Regions from separate parts of the Homo sapiens genome. Here all the other regions are linked to region 2. The links are contacts of gene promoters, found by promoter capture Hi-C in blood cells and fetal thymus (Javierre and others, 2016). All regions are on one chromosome and are shown on one strand. The core of a region is centred on a gene start or on the middle of the fragment in contact, and the rest is flanking DNA. Distances in the headings are between cores, read along the strand shown.

Region 1 (3,521 bases), core at 1,022-3,521, 110 kb before region 2:
CGACAGAGGTGAGAACAGAGACAGAGAAACAGAATAACAGAGACATATAGAGATGGAGAGACACAGTGAAATAAAGATTGACTGAGATTTAACAACTTAATATAGAGAGCGAGAGAGTCTCAAACAGATGGAGAAAGATAGAAAGATAAATCAGCTGGGCACAATGACTCACGCCTGCAATCCCAGCACTTTGGGAGGCCGAGTCAGGCTGATCACCTGAGGTCAGGAGTTCGAGACCAGCCTGATCAACATGGAGAAACCCCGTCTTTACTAAAAATACAAAAAATTAGCCAGGCGTGGTGGCGCATGCCTGTAATCCCAGCTACTAGGGAGGCTGAGGCAGGAGAATCGCCTGAACCCGGGAGGCAGAGGTTGCAGTGAGCCGAGATCACACTATTACACTCCAGTCTGGGCAACAAGAGTGAAACTCCATCTCAAAAAAAGAAAAAAGAGAAAAAAGAAAAAAAAGAAAGATAAATCAAGGGCCAGGTGCGGTGGCTCATGCCTGTAATCCTAGTACTTTGGGAGGCCGAGATGGGAGGATTGCTTGAGCCCAGGAGTTCCAGACAAGCCTGGGCAATATAGCAAGACTCTGTCTCTGCAAAAACATTTAAAAAAAATTAGCCAAGTGGCGGGGTGCAGCGGCTCCCACCTGTAATCCCAGCACTTTGGGGGGCCAAGGCAGGTGGGTTACCTGAGGTCAGGAGTTCGAGACCTGCCTGGCCAACATGGCGAAACCCCGTCTCTACTAAAAATACAAAAATTAGCTGGGTGTGGTGGTCAATGCCTGTATTCCCAGCTACTCAGGAGGCTGAGGCAGGAGAATCGCTTGGACCTGGGAGGCGGAGGTTACAGTGAGCCAACATCGCACCATTGCACTCCAGCCTGGGTGACAGAGCAAGACTCCCTCTCAAAAAAAAAAAAAAAAAAAAAAAAATAGCCAGAGTGGTGATGCGGGCCTGTAGTCCCAGCTACTCAGGAGGCTGAGGCAGAAAGAACACTTGAGCCTAGGAGGTTTGAGGCTTCAATGAGCCATGATCACACCACTGCACTCCAGCCTGGGCAATAGAGAAAGACCCTGTCTCTACAAACAAATTTTAAAAAATTAGCTGGAGTGGTGGTGTGCACCTGTAGTCCCAGCTATTCAGGAGGCTGAGGCAGGAGGATCACCTGAGCCCAGGAAGTTGAGGCTGCAATGAACCAAGATCATGCCACTGCCCTCCAGCCTGGGCAACAGAGCAAGATTCCATCTCAAAAGAAAGAAAGATAAATCAAGATAGATAGAGGGAGGGAGAGAGAGAGACATGGAGAAGGAAAGAAGAGATGGGAGAGAGGGCAAGAAAAAGAGGGAGAAGAAAGCTCATGCAGTCCTTGCCAAAGGGCGCCCACTTTGGGCTCACACTGCACCCACACTGGGGGCCGGTGGAATTGGACTCTGCCTTTTACTCCCGCCCACACCCTGTGCACTCCCACGTAAGACACTGTCACACACACGCTCTCCACATGCTTATTACAGATCGCAGTTCACTCTAACCTTCCCCACTCTCACACCCACGTACACACATGCATATCTTCCCTCTCTCCCACACTCTCCCAGCCTGTCACACTCACTCTTGCATCCTCCCCAGCAGAGATCCCTGACATCATTTAGGCACTGATGTCTACTAAAAAAGGAAGGGAGGCCAGGTGCGGTGGCTCATGTCTGTAATCCCAGCATTTTGGGAGGCTGAGGCAGATGGATCACCTGAGGTCAGGAGTTCGAGACCAGCGTGGCCAACATGATGAAACCCCGTCTCTAGTAAAAATACAAAAATTAGCCAGGCATGGTGCTATATACCTGTAGCACCAGCTACTTGGGAGACAGAGGTGGGAGAATTACTTGAACCTGGGAGGTTCAAGCCATGGGAGGTGGAAGTTGCAGTGAGCCGAGATGCCACTGCACTCCAGCCTGAGCAACAGAGCAAGACTATCTCAAGAAAAGAAAGAAAGAAAGAAAGAGACTTGCCAAGGTCATGTATCAGGGCAAGGAAGAGCTGGGGGCCCAGCTGGCTGCTCCCCTGCTGAGCTGGGAGACCACCTTGATCTGACTTCTCCCATCTTCCCAGCCTAAGCCAGGCCCTGGGGTCACGGAGGCTGGGGAGGCACCGAGGAACGCGCCTGGCATGTGCTGACAGGGGATTTTATGCTCCAGCTGGGCCAGCTGGGAGGAGCCTGCTGGGCAGAGGCCAGAGCTGGGGGCTCTGGAAGGTACCTGGGGGAGGTTGCACTGTGAGAATGAGCTCAAGCTGGGTCAGAGAGCAGGGCTGACTCTGCCAGTGCCTGCATCAGCCTCATCGCTCTCCTAGGCTCCTGGCCTGCTGGACTCTGGGCTGCAGGTCCTTCTTGAAAGGCTGTGAGTAGTGAGACAAGGAGCAGGAGTGAGGGGTGGCAGGAGAGAAGATAGAGATTGAGAGAGAGAGAGAGAGAGAGACAGAGAGAGAGGAAGAGACAGAGACAAAAGGAGAGAGAACGGCTTAGACAAGGAGAGAAAGATGGAAAGATAAAGAGACTGGGCGCAGTGGCTCACGCCTGTAATCCCAACACTTGGGGAGGCCAAGGTGGGAGGATGGCTTGAAGGAAAGAGTCTGAGATCAACCTGGCCAACATAGTGAGACCCCGTCTCTAAAAAAAAAAAAAAGAAAAAAAAAAGAAAAAAGAAAAAAAAGTTTTTTTAAAGAGACAGAGAAAGAGACTCAGAGATTGAGACTGAGAGCAAGACAGAGAGAGATACTCACAGGGAAGAGGGGAAGAGGAAAACGAGAAAGGGAGGAGAGTAACGGAAAGAGATAAAAAAGAAAAGCAGGTGGCAGAGACACACAGAGAGGGACCCAGAGAAAGCCAGACAGACGCAGGTGGCTGGCAGCGGGCGCTGTGGGGGTCACAGTAGGGGGACCTGTGATGGCCCTGGGGACGACGCTCAGGGCTTCTCTCCTGCTCCTGGGGCTGCTGACTGAAGGTGAGTGGGATCCCAGCCTTGTACCCAGCGCCAAGTGGCCCCCATTTCCCACTTACCTTCCCTAGACAAACCCTCTGCCCTTTCCTTGCACCGCGCTGTGTCCTCAGGCCTGGCGCAGTTGGCGATTCCTGCCTCCGTTCCCCGGGGCTTCTGGGCCCTGCCTGAAAACCTGACGGTGGTGGAGGGGGCCTCAGTGGAGCTGCGTTGTGGGGTCAGCACCCCTGGCAGTGCGGTGCAATGGGCCAAAGATGGGCTGCTCCTGGGCCCCGACCCCAGGATCCCAGGCTTCCCGAGGTACCGCCTGGAAGGGGACCCTGCTAGAGGTAAGGGATCAGAGCCTGAGACCCTCAGCCACCAGCGGAAGCTGCGGCCCTGACTTCCGGCTCCCCCTGCAGGTGAATTCCACCTGCACATCGAGGCCTGTGACCTCAGCGATGACGCGGAGTATGAGTGCCAGGTCGGCCGCTCTGAGATGGGGCCCGAGCTCGTGTCTCCCAGAGTGATCCTCTCCATCCTGGGTATGGGT
Region 2 (3,402 bases), core at 52-2,551:
GATGAGCCTAACCCTAAGCCCCAGTAACCACGTTCCCAAGAATCTTTTTTTTTTTTTTTTTTTTTTGAGATGGAGCCTCACTCTGTTGCCCAGGCTGGAGTGCATTGGCACCATCTTGGTTCATGGCAACTTCCGCCTCCCGGGTTCAAGCAATTCTCTGCCTCAGCCTCCCAAATAGCTGGGATTACAGGCACCTGCCACCATGCCCGGCTAATTTTTGTGTTTTTAGTAGAGATGGGGTTTCACCATCTTGGCCAGGCTGGTCTGAACTCCTAACCTCGTGATCCACCTGCCTCACCCTCCCAAAGTGCTGGGATTACAGGCGTGAGCCACCACTCCCGGCTGACTGTTTTTTTTTTTTTTTTTTTTTTTTTTTTTTGAGACGGAGTTTTGCTCTTCTTCCGCAGGCTGGAGTGCAAAGGCGCAGTCTTGGCTCAGTGCAACCTCTGCCTCCCAGGTTCAAGCAATTCTCCTTTCTCAGCCTCCCAAGTAGCTGGGATTATAGGCACCTGCCACCATGCCTGGCTAATTTTTGTATTTTTAGTAGAGATGGGGTTTCACCACGTTGGCCAGCCTGGTCTCGAACTCCGGACCTCAGGTAATCCACCCATCTCGGCCTCCCAAAGTGTGGGGATTACAGGCGTGAACCACTGCGCCCGGTCATTCCCAAGACTCTTATACCCTAAGAGTAGTTCTGAGCTCCATCTGGAGACCAGTACCTAAGTCCCAATCCCCAAACCAGCCTGAACCCCTAATCCACGACCAGCCTGGATTGCCACCCCTGATACTGGCCACTGAGTTCCCCTGATACTGGCCACTGAGGTCGTGTCTTAGAACTCTAGTTATTTCAGCACCCTCCTGCCTCATCCCAGAGCAGAGAGGCAGGCCTGCAGGATCTCTGCACCACTCCTCAGGGTTCTAACAGAACTCTCAACGCTCCTATTCCCAGGTCACCCCCGAGGTTCCATACTGGCCACCATCCCCGAGAGAGGAACCATCGGTGTTCCCCTGATCACTGGCATGGCCGCTTCTGAGGCCCTGGCCCCCTTACCCTTCACCCCCAACAGGGACAGATGTTCCTGGCAGGACCTCTCCTCAAAGCCCCCTTCACTCTCCTGCCCCATCCTTCCCAGGCTCCCGGGCTCCATAATGTAATCTGTTCAGCATGGAGACCTTCTTCTACCGCCCCTGTCTTAATAAAGCTGCGTGTTTCACTTCGGCATCAACTTGCTTTTGCTGTGGTTTGGCATTTCCCTCCACCCACACATGTGACGAAAAGGGGAAACAAGACTGGGTCCTGGCCACAACTTCAGCTGAGGAACTTGGCACGGCCAGCTTGGGACCCAGGACCCTAACGGTACTGGTAGGGTGGGGACACCTTTGTGCTGAAAACCTTAGCACCTCCATCTGAGGCTTATTCAAGGGGGAGAGACCTGGTTGTGGCAGGTGGGAGGAGCCCTAGCCCCAAGGAGATTAGGATTCAAAGGTGAGGTGAGGTGCTGGGAGGTGGTCTCCAGCCAGTATGGGGCTGACTCCTCCGTGCCTGCCGAATTGTGATGGGAGTTAGTAATGCCTTACACTTAAACACTGAGTTTACTGTATGTGAGGTGCTGTTTTCAGCACTTTAGTTTGTTTTTGTTTTTTTTAAGGAGTTTCATTCCTGTTGCCCAGGCTGGAGTGCAATGGCACGATCTCAGCTCACTGCAGCCTCCACTTCCCAGGTTCAAGCAATTCTGCCTCAGCCTCCCAAGTAGCTGGGATTTACAGGCATGCGCTACCACGCCCGGCTAATTTTGTATTTTTAATAGAGACAGGGTTTCACCATGTAGGCCAGGCTGGTTTTGAACTACTGACCTCAGGTGATCCACCCACCTGGGCCTCCCAAAGTGTTGGGATTACAGGCATGAGCCACTGCGCCCGGCGGCCAGTTTTTTTTGTTTTTAGAGATGAGGTCTTGCTGTGTTGCCCAGGCTGGTCTGTAATTCATGGCTCAAGCAATCCTCCTACCTTGGCCTCCCTAGTAGCAGGGACTACAGACGTGAGCCACTGCACTTGGCAAAGTGCTTTGCTGTTTTTTTTTTTTTTTTTTTTTTTTGTAAAGATGGGGTTTCATTTTGTTGTCCAGGCTGATCTCTCGAACTCCTGGGCTCAAGTGATCCTCCTGTCTTGGCCTCCCAAAGTGTTGGGATTACAGGCATGAGCCACCACACCCAGCCCCTGCTTTACTTCTAATGACGGTTCTAATTCTCCACAATAACCCTATGAGACAGGTGCTATCATTGTCTTATTTTAGGGATGGAAAAGGGAGGGTGGGTGGGTGAGGACACGGCAGAGGTGGGATATGCATTCTTGCAATCTAGATCCGCAGCCCTGTTAGTCCCCTAGTGGCCTTGTGGGCTTCTCTGATAACCGGCTCAGTTGGGGGATGAGGGCTCGGGGGTAGATTCCCGGCTTCCGAAGAGGCGTGAGAATTCTGTTCCCCCACATCACCGCGTCCTTTCTTCTGCCCGATTTCCCCGGAAAGTGTAGCAGAGGCGCTGTGTTTGGAAGTCCCGCTATCACGGCCCCCCAGATGGGGCCTGGACGATGCCTCCTGACGGCCTTGTTGCTTCTGGCCCTGGCGCCACCGCCGGAAGCCTCCCAGTACTGCGGCCGCCTTGAATACTGGAACCCAGACAACAAGTGCTGCAGCAGCTGCCTGCAACGCTTCGGGCCGCCCCCCTGCCCGGGTGAGAATCCGAGACCGAGCCTTGCTTGGGCGGAGCTTGCAGGTGATAGGGAGCGGGGAAGGGGCGAGGTCTGTGGGCTACGGGCCAGAGAGGCTTGCTTAGGGGTCTAAGCGGTGGGCCTTATGCAGATCAGACAGGGATGGCAGGCAGAGCCTGTGCAGATAGTGCGGGCTACCGTAGGGCAACAGCGAATGGATATGGCTGGAGAGGCGGGATAGGGGCCGCGTGGAAAGGGTGGGCTTTATGTAGAGAAGCCGGGAGTGGGCGGAGCTTCGTGCGGAGCAGGCTGGAGGGGGGTGAAAAGGCGAGCCCGGAGAAAAGTGACAAGACCGGGGCGCACGCTAATAGGCTGGAAGCGTCCTGGAGGGGCGGGGCACGCTGGGATAGGGCGAAGGGAGAGGGCGTTGCCCGCGCAGGGGCGGGCTAGGCGGCCGCACTGGAGCGCAGCTTTCCCGCTAGACTATGAGTTCCGGGAAAACTGCGGACTCAATGACCACGGCGATTTCGTAACGCCCCCGTTCCGAAAGTGTTCTTCTGGGCAGTGCAACCCCGACGGCGCGGAGCTATGTAGCCCCTGCGGCGGCGGAGCCGTGACCCCTACTCCCGCCGCGGGCGGGGGCAGAACCCCGTGGCGCTGCAGAGAGGTGCAGATGGGACTCCCGGCAGGGCAAGG
Region 3 (3,292 bases), core at 13-2,512, 130 kb before region 2:
GCCTCTCCCGTTCGGCCCCGCCCACCTGTCTGCAGTACTCCAGCACGCGCTGCGGGTCCCGGAGACAGCGTCGAGAGCGCTGTGGGTCTGGTTCCCAGCGGCCGGTGCGCAGGTCCCGGTGAAGGGTTAGGCGCCCGCATAGTCCAGCCACCTGGGCCGACCCCGGGGCCTGGATGGAAGTGGAAAGGACAGTGAGGGCTCGGGGGGCGTTGGCATGAGGGTCCCCTGGTTCTTTGCTCCCTAGGACCGAGACCCCCAGCACCAGCCCCCTCCCCCAAGCACCGCACACCGCCTCCATGGAGGCACCGTTCCCTGGGAAACAGCTCCCGTAGGGCGGGGGCGCCCCAGCGCTCCCGTTGCTATGGCGACCTGGGTCCCCCGGGATTCTTTCTGCCTTGTTGCCGCGGAGACAGACTCCGCCCCCACCCCAGCGCAGCCGCTCTGGAGCCCGAAGGGGTTAAACCTGAATCGCGGAGGAGGAGGCCAGAACCCAGGAGTTCTGGCCCCTCCTCCCTCCATCCCTTGCTCAGGCTCCCGTTGCAGGATGCAAAGCTGACAAGGCCTGGCTTCAGGGGCCTACAGTCCTGGACACCAGGTCCTTGAGGACTGGAGAGCTACATCTGGTTGGGGTGGGTGGTGACTGAAGGACTGGACTCCTGGGTCCTGGGAGGCTGCAAGGGCCTCCATATGGGTCCAGAGAATACAAGGGGTCTGGATTATTGGATCTAAATGCCTCGCTGCTTGGTGGGTCCTATGTCCAGGCGGGAGGGGGTTGGGGCCGAGTCACCTGGGTCTGGAGAGGGGGCTGGACTTCTGGGACCAGGGGCTCTGAATAGACCAGTTCCTATGCTCGAGATGGGAGGGGGCTGGGACGTCGCATGATGGGGGAGCTGGGGCCTGGAACCCTGGGTTCATAAATGTGATTGGGGGCGCCTGGGGGCTGACCACCTGGCTGGAAAGACCGCGCTTTCTGCCCTGGACATGTCCGCGCCGGCGTCCAGAGACCCGGTCCCGCCCCTTCCCCCATCCCCCAGGACCCGGCCCGGCCTCACCTCGGCCGCGCCGGGGCTCCCACCGGCCAGGCTCCCGATGGCGGGCTGCGCGCGCAGAAGCAGCAGCAATAGTGGCAGCAGCAGCGGCAGCGGCGGCTGGCCCGGGCGGCGACTTAGACCGCGAGCAGCGGGGCTGGCGGGCCCCATGTCCCGGCCCTTGCGCCCTCACGTCCCCTGCACTCCCGCCCGGCCCGGCCCCAGCGGTGACAGGAGCTCCCAGCGCCACCGCCGCCACCTCCTCCTCCCGCCGCCCCCGGGCTGCGCCGGCGCCGCCAGCCCCGCCCCGCGCCGGCCCCGCCTTCCTGGTCAGGACAATAGCGTGGCGGCTTCGCGCAGAGTGGAGCAGCTCGGGAACCCCGGGCGGGAGCCTGCGCCAGGCCCCCGCCCCTCGAGATTCCAGGCGTCCCGCCCCATGAAGGGCCCAGCCAGGAGTCCGGCTATGGGCTCCGCCCGTTGTGGATTTTGAGTCCTCCCGCAGGACTCTCACCCTCTTTAGACCCAGACACTCACAGTTTTGTCCTTTTCCAAGGATGCAAGCATCAGAGACCCCCATCCCCTAGTACATTCCTCTGTTGAGGGCTCAGGAATACAGGCCTCCAAAATGTCCCCAGTCAAGAAGGCAGCAGTTGAGACCTAGTCCCTTCCTCTTTCAGATCCAGAAGTCTGGGCACCTTCTCTCTCAGGACCAGAGACCAAGCCCCCAGCCCATTCTCCTTCAGACCCAGGAGTTCACTCTTCTTGCTCTGCTTCCCAAGGGTCCCAGGGGCCTGGACCTTTAACTCCTAGCTCAAGGATCCATGAACCAAAGCCCCCAGGACCTTTCTTTAAGGATCATCCAAGCAGGCACCAGCACCATGCCCACTGTGGATGCAGCACCTCAGGATTAGGGTCTGGATCTCCACGCTTGCTGTAAGGACCAGGGGATTGCCATTTTCCTACCCATAGTCTCCCCTTCCCTGCTCCACTTCAGGGCTCACTTGTTTGTCTCCTCTAATGAGAGTTAGAATTCAGTCTTCCCCAGGACCCCTGGGGCAGCCCTGTCACTTGTGTGCAACTGTGTGGACATCTATGCGTGTGTCTGTGCATACATGCCTATGTGTGTGTCTTTTCTGTTTGCAACTCATGTGTGTGTGTGCGTGTGTGTGTGTGTGTGTGTGTGTGTGAAGATGTATATTAAAAGAGCCCATGGCTGGGCACAGTGGCTCATGCCTGTAATCCCAGCACATTGGGAGGCCTAGGTGGGCGGATCACTTGAGGTCAGGAGTTTGAGACCAGCCTGGCCAACATGGTGAAACCCTGTCTACAAACAAATACAAAAATTAGCTGGGTGTGGTGGCATGCACCTGTAGTCCCAGCTACTTGGGAGGCTGAGGTGGAAGGATGGCTTGAGCCCAGGATGCAGAGGTAGCAGTGGGCTGAGATCATGCCACTGCACTCCAATGTGGGCCATAGAGCCAGATCTTGTCTCAAGAAAAAAAAAAAAAGAGCCTAGAGTGCTTTGCAGGTAGCAAGAGGCTGAGAGGTGGCTCACAGTTTTACTCCTACAGCCACCTCATAGGCTAGGGTAGAGGAGGGACCTTGGGACAGGTCTAAGGGACCCCTTCCTTGGTGGAGAGTGATAATGCCAGTAGACTCCCTAAGACACACTTGCCTCTTTGACTTTTTTTTATTATTAAACATAAATATTTTTATCCCAATATTTTGCCCCAACAGTGGTAATTCTCACTGTATCCCCACTCCTTGGGTCCAAGTCTTTCTGAGTCTTTAAGGAAAGTAAAATCAAGATGGTGGCCATCTTGGGTTCCTAGGGAGTATATGGCCATCTTGGCTGCATTTCCATTGGCCGAGCAAAGTTCCCCTCAGGGAGAGCCAGGGTGGGGCCTGGTATGCTCTTCATCTTCATCTATCCTATGCTACCTTTCCTCTCAATGCAGATGGTCATCTTGAAATATCTTCTTTCAGTGGCTAGAAACAACTTCCATCCCGGCCCCAAACTCCCAACACCCACTGCCCTGTCCCCATCTCTCCTCAAAGGGCCTACCTGCCATCTTGAATCTCTTTTACACCGGGGAATAGGTGGGCATATTGGGTGGCCATGTTGCTCCCACTTGGGGCATCTCCTTTGGCTGAGCTGACTGTATACAAATGCTCCTGACAAATGTAATGATCTTTCCCTCCCCTTGTGTTCAGTTTTGGAGGAGTAAGGTCGCCAACTTGTCCTGGCTCCTCAGAAATCAGAA

The links. Contacts are between HindIII fragments. The CHiCAGO score rates a contact against its expected background, and 5 or more counts as called.
Region 1: the fragment with the promoter of NPHS1 here is called in contact with the fragment with the promoter of IGFLR1 in region 2 in 9 of 17 cell types (M1 macrophages, total B cells, naive CD8 T cells and 6 more); the score reaches 8.7 in M1 macrophages.
Region 3: the fragment with the promoter of APLP1 here is called in contact with the fragment with the promoter of IGFLR1 in region 2 in 4 of 17 cell types (M1 macrophages, M0 macrophages, M2 macrophages and 1 more); the score reaches 6.6 in M1 macrophages.

The regions. Positions count from the first base shown.
Region 1 is chr19:35,851,254-35,854,774 of GRCh38, reverse strand. It overlaps NPHS1 (NPHS1 adhesion molecule, nephrin), which reads left to right and starts at 2,271. Exons shown (of 29, transcript NM_004646.4): 1 at 2,271-2,995; 2 at 3,103-3,318; 3 at 3,391-3,513. The coding sequence starts at 2,938. It also overlaps a transcript of KIRREL2 not described here. RefSeq lists enhancers at 2,343-2,984, 2,985-3,521. The HindIII fragment of the contact is 3,857 bases long and covers 1-3,521 here.
Region 2 is chr19:35,740,351-35,743,752 of GRCh38, reverse strand. It overlaps IGFLR1 (IGF like family receptor 1), which reads left to right and starts at 1,301. Exons shown (of 5, transcript NM_024660.4): 1 at 1,301-1,357; 2 at 2,530-2,729; 3 at 3,189-3,373. The coding sequence starts at 2,573. U2AF1L4 (U2 small nuclear RNA auxiliary factor 1 like 4) reads left to right here. Exons shown (of 6, transcript NM_001040425.3): 6 at 950-1,226. The coding sequence ends at 1,034. RefSeq lists enhancers at 1,119-1,548, 2,896-3,005, 3,353-3,402 and a silencer at 3,086-3,215. The HindIII fragment of the contact is 10,043 bases long and covers 1-3,402 here.
Region 3 is chr19:35,866,544-35,869,835 of GRCh38, reverse strand. It overlaps APLP1 (amyloid beta precursor like protein 1), which reads right to left and starts at 1,262. Exons shown (of 17, transcript NM_001024807.3): 1 at 1,053-1,262; 2 at 26-169. The coding sequence starts at 1,199. It overlaps LOC107985317 (a long non-coding RNA gene), which reads left to right and starts at 479. Exons shown (of 4, transcript XR_001753932.2): 1 at 479-744; 2 at 1,706-1,961; 3 at 3,243-3,292. It overlaps KIRREL2 (kirre like nephrin family adhesion molecule 2), which reads right to left. Exons shown (of 15, transcript NM_199180.4): 15 at 2,700-3,292. RefSeq lists silencers at 1,022-1,091, 1,182-1,441. The HindIII fragment of the contact is 13,044 bases long and covers 1-3,292 here.